Linked DNA regions of Homo sapiens: all the other regions are linked to region 2. The links are contacts of gene promoters, found by promoter capture Hi-C in blood cells and fetal thymus (Javierre and others, 2016). All regions are on one chromosome and are shown on one strand. Each heading gives the region's core, a stretch centred on a gene start or on the middle of the fragment in contact. The rest is flanking DNA. Distances are from core to core; before and after follow the strand shown.

Region 1 (2,946 bases), core at 275-2,774, 330 kb after region 2:
ATATTATTTCAAAAAGTAATTGGTCAAACTTTAAATAATAGAATTATTCAGCATCTTTATAATCACATAAGGATTTTCTTGAAGACACAAAAAAGAAAAATAAAAGAATTCTGTTTCTCATGCTTTGTTTGATTCTCTCTTTGTTTAGTCCCTGGTTATCTGAATGAATCTAAGGAGCCCATTAAGATCATTACAATAACAATATAATACTATTATATACAGAACTATTTTTGCAATAAGCATCCTCAAAACATTGTGCGTATGTAAATATATATATGTAGTCATAGATAGCAAAATAGCCATATGTGTGTGTAAAAATATATATGAATACATATATATATGCAACAATATGTATATATAAATGTGATTTTAAATAAAAAAAAAAAAAAACAGAAGGAGTAAACTCGGCCCTAAATCTTGCAAAACCAAAAGGCCAAATGACAGAATTTTCACCCAAGAAGGTGACTTCCTCAGAAAGTATGGATATGAACACGGTTGGTAATTCTGAGGGAAGTGGGCAGAACACATGCTATATTAGTCTGGACTTGGGATAACATCCTTACTCTTGTAGTTCACAAGATATCAGGTGGTTTAAAAACAACAACAGCAACAACAAAATCCTTGTTCACAACTTGTTAATGACAGGTTCATTAGCTCAAAAGTCTTAATCATTAATGTGATAGACAATCTTAAGTGGATTCCAATGTGAATCTATTTCATATAAATATATTGCTGGGTGTTGCTTGTCCTTGTTTCGGATGTTAACACTTTTAGTTGCAAATGGGCCTCATGAATTAACTGTGCACCCCTTTATGTATGGCAGGTGGCCCTTGTTCTGTTAACATGGGTCAATGCAACCGTTGAAGCAGTATACCGTATTTCTTATTGTCAGCCGGGTCCAGGACTTGGCAGATAAAAGTATTGCCTTCTGTTCTATTGTTGTACAATTCCAAGGAAAGAAGAGTATCTACATCTTTCCTGTTAACTTTCCAGTGAAATGCTGGGGTAAACACAAACATTGCGCCTAAATATGTCAAGTGGTGGTAGACAATAGGAACTGAGCATTTAACTAGAAAAAAAACAACTAAAATTCCTTAATTTTCCACATAATTATGGCTTTTACCTAAACTGTCTAAATGATGGTCTCAGTTGGACACCTAGCATTCTTCTTAAAACAACCATGAGTAAAAAGGAAATACGGAAAATAAGAGAATTTTACCTCAAGGTTTTCCTAACATCATTCTAGTTACAAAACATAGGAAAATAAAGAGACTAGCAACTTAAATTCGACTTTAGAAAATTTATTTAAGAGCAGTTCTTGACTTATTTTATTACACACATTAAGTCAAGTCAGAGCCCCTTTGTTTAACTAATTATATGTTCTGCAATTATAGGAATGACTGACTTGTATTTACAGATGATGTATGATTTATATAATTACTTCTCTGCAGTCTATTCATTTGTATTTTTATTGAAATTACAGGTGCTTCAATTTAACAGAGACCAGGGAGTCAAATGTGACCCTGAAAGTGAAAAAAAAAGGAAAATGGTATATCTTATCCTTTAATATATATTTCATAATTAAGGAAAAAGTACTTTTAGCACATGTATTTTAGTGATAACTGAAGCAACTTTTAGCAGGTAATTTTTCTTAGAAACATATATTAAAGTTACAGAAACTTTTTTTGGAATACAAAATATCTACACCTTTTGAAAGATCTCTTGTCCCCACGCCCTTTTAATCTCTCTAAAAATTTCTCTAGTTTCAAACTTTTCCTTGCCTGCTTTTGCAAACTAAATGTGAAGAAAATTATGGCCTCAATAACATTTCATTCTTTTGCACTAACACTAAAGAAAACATTTTTATCCACTTTAGGAACATTTTCAACTTTTGTTTGCAATTCCCCAAATAATTTTATTTAGCTTTAGTTTGCTAACATGTACGTAACTCTTGTTCAACATTTTATTTGACTAGTTCCTTCTCTTTTAAAGGAATTCAACTTGAGCAACTCGGAAGAAATACACTCTGATTTCCAAACACTTATCTCAGAAATCCTCAAGCCCAACGATGACTACTTACTTAAAACAGCCAATGCGATATATGGAGAGAAAACGTATGCATTTCACAATGTAAGTGCAAATGTCTTATTTTAAGCTAATGGAAAAGAAAGAGCAATGTGAGACCAATCAGTAAACTCTGTATATTTCTTTAGGGATCCAGGGACAATCTTCATGTGGTCAGTACTTCCCTGCAAACAATCAATTAGACCAACCAATGAGTGTCTAGTGGTAAAGGAAACCAATAACAGGTCTCAAATCAGATCTAGGAATCAGATATTTCTGTCTAGAATAAAGAGGTAGCCCCTGAGAATGGCCTACAAATACATATGGAGACTTGGCTGGAGACTGTCTACTTGAGAGCAAAACTGACCTTGGGATGAGAGAAGTGAGGAGTTTTCACATCAAGACTTTACAGACTTTGGGAACATGAAACATGAAATAATATCAACCTCTCCTCTTTACTAAGGGTTGAAACCCCACCAATGCAGACCATGATGACTCTGTCCTCTGTTAAGAGGGTCACATGACAACCCAGGTCAATAATTTCCTTCATTGTCCAACATCTCTTTGGGCAGGAGGACCCGTGTGTCCAGTGGGCAAAGAGCAAGGAAATTAGATAGGGTAGAAGAATAGCAATAAGATAAAATAAAGCTACCTTGTGATTTCAAGCAATGCTATCTCTGTTCAAATCTAGTGAATTCTGGGGAGTTCAGGAATTGAGCTTTGTTATTACTAAAGACATAAAATCATCCAAATGGAATCTTAAAGACAGTTTCCTTTCTTGTAGGCTCATGGACTCTCGTTTGATGCAGAAGTAGGAGACATGATTGACTCAGTGGGCACTTAGAAACAAGAGGGACACAGAGATAGAGACAAACATATTTT
Region 2 (3,133 bases), core at 181-2,680:
GTCACGGAGGGACCTGTGGTTGGGGACAGAGCAGCACAGCGTGATGGTCTAAGTTTCCAAAGGGGAGCATTGAAGGTGACTGAAGGAAGAAAGACTTGGAAGAAGAGGGAGTGCGAGGGAGAATAGGAATGGTGACTTTGCTTTCCCAAGATATGAGTGGCCGTTCCCAGAAAAGACTATGGGATGTAGTAGTCCTCAGGACATGCCAGGTTTCCCGGTGAAAGCAGGTGGTAGAGCAAAAGCTTTAGCAAAAAGCAGAAGGCCTGTGGAAATGGCTGGGCAATAGAACAGGAAGTCTAGGGGCCACAGAGAAAGAAATAAGAAGATATAAATGGATAGGGATATTAAAACATAAAGCATTATGGCCGACTCAGAGATTTTATGCCATTTTAAAAAACTAACATTTCCATTTCACTGGCATCCAGGGTTCACTAAGTGTTAATTCTTTCTAAACCTTACTCAATTTGCAAGATTCTCAGTGCCTATTAAAAAGCAAATCAACTAAATGTGGCTTTGAGTTTGCTTAAAGAGCAGCAATCAAAATATTTTGAAAAAAGTAAATTGTGAGTATGGAGATTGGAACACACATGACCCATATGCCCTTCGAGCCTGCGTATCTAGGGAGGTGTTCCTCTAGGCAGAAGGAAGAGCTAAGACACCCTTCTAGGAGCTGCTGCCCAGCAACGATGGCAAATCTCCACGCCCTTTACTGAAGATTAAAGCTAAGACTAATCCAAGCACAGTTTCTTTTAATGAACTGGTAGGGCCAGTAGAAATGCTCCAGGGTTGGCAGGAAAAACTGGAATCTGGGGGTGTAATTTCCTATTGAGTTTTTTTGGTAGTGTTGTTTTCCTGAAATCAGTGAGGATATTGAGTGCTTATGAATTATTGGCATTAGACACAGTACCTGGTACATAATAGACTTGATAAATGTTTATTGAATGAATTAAAATGAGATATTTTACAATTAATGGATGGAATACTTGAGAATAATAGGTGTGTGTGTGTATGTGTGTGTGCGTGTGTGTGTGTGCGCATGCTCGCTTGTGTGTGGCTGCCTACCCAAACTTTTCTTGTTCTTTTTTCTTGTTCCTTTGTAGCAAGATAGTTTTCTTTCATTTTCTTCCTGGCATTTGGCACTCCTAAATAATGCAAATGCAAAAATAACTCTGTTACAGAGAATGACTTGTCAGGACACAGCTCTGTCCATCTGTGGTAAGTAAAGTATGCATTTAATGTATGTGTTCATCAGGCTATACACCTTTGGTTCCCAGCGTTGGCTGTACATTGTAATCACCTGCGGTGATAAAAATTCTGATGCCTGGTTTCCACTCGAGAGATGCTGACTCAGTTGGTCTGGGGTGGGGCTTGGGCATAGATTTTTTTTAAAGTTCCAAGGAGATTTTAAGGTGCACGCAAGGTGGAAAACCACTGCTGAAGCAGATGTGGAGAACTATAAATTAAGGATCCCAGCTACTTAATTGACTTATGCTTCCTAGTTCGTTGCCCAGCCACCACCGTCTCTCCAAAAACCCGAGGTAAGTTCTTATTTTGGCTCCAATTTAAGACCTCTGTATTTTGAGAACAATGATGTTTGTTGTTTGAAAGAATTACTTTTATTTTGCATAGACTTTCTGGAGGTAGTTTTATTTAATTCAGTTCCAACATGGCCATGACAATGTATCTTCTTTGACAGTAAATTAATCCATTTTATTTCTGAGTTAACCTGTAAAGGATCTCTGCAAGGAAACCTGAGGTTGAAATGAAAGCTTTGATATCAGATGTGGGATGCCTTAGCGGGGATGAGCCCTTGAGGGCAAAAGGCCCCAAAGTATGTGGGCTTTAAAAAACTTTATTTTTCATTAATCTTATTCTTGTTTTAGGATTCCTCCTAAAGCCTTTACTTACTAGTTTTAAAGTAGTTGGTAATGAAGCAAACATAAAAACAGTTCTACCTATTTATTTTTGGCAAATATTAATTGCTCTTTAAAAACTATTTTTGTGAAATGACAAAAGTAATGCAAGCTCATGTACAAGCCTAAAACAATACAGAAAAGTATAAAAAAGAAAACCCTTTCATCTCCACCTAATAATTCATGACCAGAGATATGTGGTTTCTGCTTCAGAAAAATTCAGCCCAGAGTCAAGTTTGTATGCAGTTAGGGAAAGGGGTTTAAGAGATTTAATCAATCCTGTCACTCTCTGGGCTGAATTTTGAATCAATTGAGAAATAGTATCAGATAAGGATTCAAGTCTCGGCTTAATTATTGCTAAGGTTGGATCTGAGAGCACTGTTTGAACTTGAGGCCCGTGGAGATTCTTGTGCCTACCCCCCTGCCTTATCATGGGCCCCACATCTGGACAAACTGGTGTCGCCTGGACAAGGGCTGGGTCTACCTGGGGAAGCTTCCATGAAGAGGAGGCTGTGGAGAGGCAGAGACAGGCAGGGTCAGACAGAGAGCAAGAGAATAAAGCCATTAAAACATTAACCCTGCTCCGCGGGGAAATAAGAACTGAGCACCACCGGATGACGGAAGACTCCAGTAGATTGATGGATGTCTCCCAGCAAGAGAAGGCCAAGAGAGGACGTGAGAAGCAGGCAGCAGCGACCTTTCACCAAAAGGGTGGAAATCCCTGTATTCCGGATCGATGCAAGAAGAGGAATAGAAGCAGAAAGGATTCCCCTGACACAGAGTAATTCAAATGTTCAGTTTTGATTGTTGTTCTTGCTATTCTAGGTCTCGCTAAAATCATCATGGATTCACTTGGCGCCGTCAGCACTCGACTTGGGTTTGATCTTTTCAAAGAGCTGAAGAAAACAAATGATGGCAACATCTTCTTTTCCCCTGTGGGCATCTTGACTGCAATTGGCATGGTCCTCCTGGGGACCCGAGGAGCCACCGCTTCCCAGTTGGAGGAGGTTGGGCGCAGTCAGGGGGCTTCCTTGTTTCCTATGCACAAATTCATTTGGCGGGGGGGTTGTCAGCCCTCTTGCATTATCTTAAAAATACGCTCTTCTTGACCTGTGGACCAGGAAACAGAGACTTTCAAGACAAGGAGCAATTTCAGGTCTATCAGGAAAGCCCTCTTCCTTTTCCAAATACCATCTCGCCACCTGCTCCCAGATGCTTGA
Region 3 (2,887 bases), core at 380-2,879, 300 kb after region 2:
CCATGCTGGCCAGGCTGGTCTCAAACTCCTGACCTCAAGTGATCCTCCCGCCTCGGCCTCCCAAAGTGCTGGGATTACATGCATGAGCCACCACACCCGGCCATAAGATCTATTTTATAATCAAGAGAAGATGAAAAATTCTTCTTGTGTCAGGATATTAGGGTAGAATCCGAGTTATTTCGAAAATTACAGCTTGAGACAATGTAAGACAGATTAAAATAGAGAATTTCTAAGACAGAAAATGGATTTTTTCTTCCCTCCCATGCCCTAAGCATCGCTTGGGTCTCCCTAGGCTCAAAAGAGAGAGTAAATCTCATTATATTTATATATTGGAAGAAGCCCACAGGCCATGGTTGTCCAAAGCTAGAAGAAGTATTGTAGAATTTGATACTATCCTTGAGCACAAGTATAGTGGGGGAAATCTTGAAACTGGGGCTGACAGATTTTAGCTAACTTTCACAGGCATGTGTAGATATTGACAAATTCTTAAGTTTCAGAGTGACCTCATCCTCCCCCAAAATTTCTTAAACCATGCCTTTACAAACAAGTATTTCTATTCTAATGATGTCTTCCTGAGTAAAATGTTGAATCACTCAAAGGACACAGATCAAAAGACAGAGGGAGAAAAAAAAATGCCATGTGGGAGGGGCAAAGCTGTATAAAACCAGTCATTACCATGTCTGAACTGTAACAACTCTCAGAGGAGCATTGCCCGTCAGACAGCAACTCAGAGAATAACCAGAGAACAACCAGGTATTTCAATGATTTCCATGCCATGTCTATGGGAAATAGGGTTTCATGTTTTCTCTTCCCTCATGCTGGTATTAATAGATTGAAAATTTGGATGTGGGGTGTTTGTAGAGGGCGAGTAAAATTTAAGTGGTGTTTTCTTGTTTAGTTGTTGAATTGAAAATATTTTATTTCAAGATTTGAATTAAATTTATAAGGTTTAATTTTGAATCTCAGAAGCCAACAAATACCTTTGTAGCATTAACCAAAACAAAATGTACATTCAGATTGTGATGCCAATTTTATTGAACAGATTAGATTATATATGTTCTCTACTAGCTACTGTTTTGACACTAAATTTGATGGAAACAACTAGATACATTAAAATATTTTCATTTAAGCAATTGAATGTAATCTCTACATTGTATATAAATAATAGGAAAAGAAGACTTCATTTGCACCTTAAATGAAAAAGCAGGAACTGCAAAAATTAAGTAGCAATTTGGGCTGGGTCAATCTAGTACAACAATATGTTTATTGAGTTTAGTTCAATAATGGGTCAATTTAGTGAAAGAGAATAATCAGCCAAAGTAGTTGCAGGGTTGACTGAAGTATGGTTCAGTAAATAACTTAATATCCCATAAAAAGATACTTATTCATTATGAAAGCCATCAACTAGGAGAAATTGCTTTTAATTCTGTTGGGGGAGATGTAGCAGTATTTGATGAGATATTCCCTTGAAACTGTTGTTTTCTCTTAGTTCTCATTAATTTTTGTGGTCAATTTCAAAATATTTCCACTGTCTAATTGTAAACAAAATTTGTTTTAAATGCTACAGCAAACTCCAATCTAACATCCAGGGCCAACAGGGTGAGAGACAATGGCCGTGTGCCTGGTGACTCCTCCCAAATTCTTCCTTCCCTGTGCCAAGTTTCAGTGGTGCATTTGTCAACTTGTGTTGCAGGAACCAACACACACACCACCAGGAAGCCCAACCCTGCATATTACTCCCATTAATTCATCCCAGTAATACTATTAAACCTTAATTAAGAGCATACTATTTGGAAGTTAATGAGATCATATAAATTACTATAATGTTAAAAAATTCACAACAGGTATACCTGTTCCAGGAGGCTGTGGTATTTCACAATACCCCATGACTTCAATTTTGCCTTGTTTTGAAAGATTTTCATTCAAACATAAAGTATGGCCTTATCTGAGAGTCAGGAAACACTGCATATGGGTGCCTTCATAGATTTCTAAAATTATGAAACTCTCAGACCTTATTTGAAAAGTTTGTAGGAAAGCATTAGACTTGGAATCAGAAGTCTGTGATCCAGTCTAGGCTTCTGAAATGGACCAGCTGTGCAATCTCTATTTTCATATTTTCATTCATATTACAGAAATTACTAAGCCTTACTGGACAGGTAATTATGCAAATTGAAAAGGGAGCTGAAGGAATTTGGTGACTGCCATACAGACATCAAATATTATTTTTACATTAAATGTAATTAATTACACCTTATTTAAAAATATAATTGAAACTATCTTTTTTGAAAGAAGTAAATGCATCCAGGAAAATTTGCTTCTGTTCTTATTAATTTTTTTCTTTATCAAGTTACCTTAAATTCTAACTTAGTATTAACAGAACTTTCTGTTAGTTTGTCTTTAGAGTTAAATATTTTTACTATCAAAGTTACTATGTGGATTGTTACAAAGAATCCGGTATGAATTGTTACAAAGAATCACGTATTTAGGTATGGGAGAAGTCTAAATTTATGTTTGTGGCTCTGATCTCTTATTTACATTTCTCACATGGGGATCGAGAAATATTTTATTTGTGTTATTAATACTCAGTTTGTTTCCAAAAGATATTGAGATAATTAATTTTAAAAATCTGTACAATAAATCTATTTAATTATGAAGACAATTTTAAGAGGAAGAGGAACAAATTTTTGAGCCATCCAATGTAATCTAGTATCTATGATGAAGCAAGAGAAAAAAAAAGTGACTTTTTGTTTTTACTTCCTAATAAGCCTTCTAGTAGAATTACAGGTTTACTACTTTTTTCTTTTGACTTCCTCTTTCTAGCATTTCTTGCACTACAACTTGCTTAAGCTCTTACACTTCATAGTGAAGCTATGCACCACCGAGTGAA

Evidence for each region. The method cuts DNA at HindIII sites, captures the fragments that hold promoters and counts their contacts. A CHiCAGO score of 5 or more calls a contact.
Region 1: a contact is called between a fragment that was not itself captured here and the fragment with the promoter of SERPINB13 in region 2, in 1 of 17 cell types (M1 macrophages). The highest score is 5.2, in M1 macrophages.
Region 3: a contact is called between a fragment that was not itself captured here and the fragment with the promoter of SERPINB13 in region 2, in 2 of 17 cell types (M2 macrophages and M1 macrophages). The highest score is 5.6, in M2 macrophages.

What each region holds. Positions count from the first base shown.
Region 1 is chr18:63,915,973-63,918,918 of GRCh38, forward strand. It overlaps SERPINB10 (serpin family B member 10), which reads left to right. Exons shown (of 8, transcript NM_005024.3): 3 at 1,484-1,549; 4 at 1,993-2,130. Among named protein-coding and RNA genes, the nearest start is that of SERPINB10, 9.5 kb to the left of the region's middle. The HindIII fragment of the contact is 4,705 bases long and covers 1-2,946 here.
Region 2 is chr18:63,585,913-63,589,045 of GRCh38, forward strand. It overlaps SERPINB13 (serpin family B member 13), which reads left to right and starts at 1,431. Exons shown (of 8, transcript NM_012397.4): 1 at 1,431-1,538; 2 at 2,739-2,920. The coding sequence starts at 2,756. RefSeq lists an enhancer at 2,717-3,133. The HindIII fragment of the contact is 1,527 bases long and covers 241-1,767 here.
Region 3 is chr18:63,887,018-63,889,904 of GRCh38, forward strand. SERPINB2 (serpin family B member 2) reads left to right here and starts at 688. Exons shown (of 8, transcript NM_002575.3): 1 at 688-753. All of the region lies in intron 2 of LOC124904356 (a long non-coding RNA gene), which reads right to left. The HindIII fragment of the contact is 8,502 bases long and covers 1-2,887 here.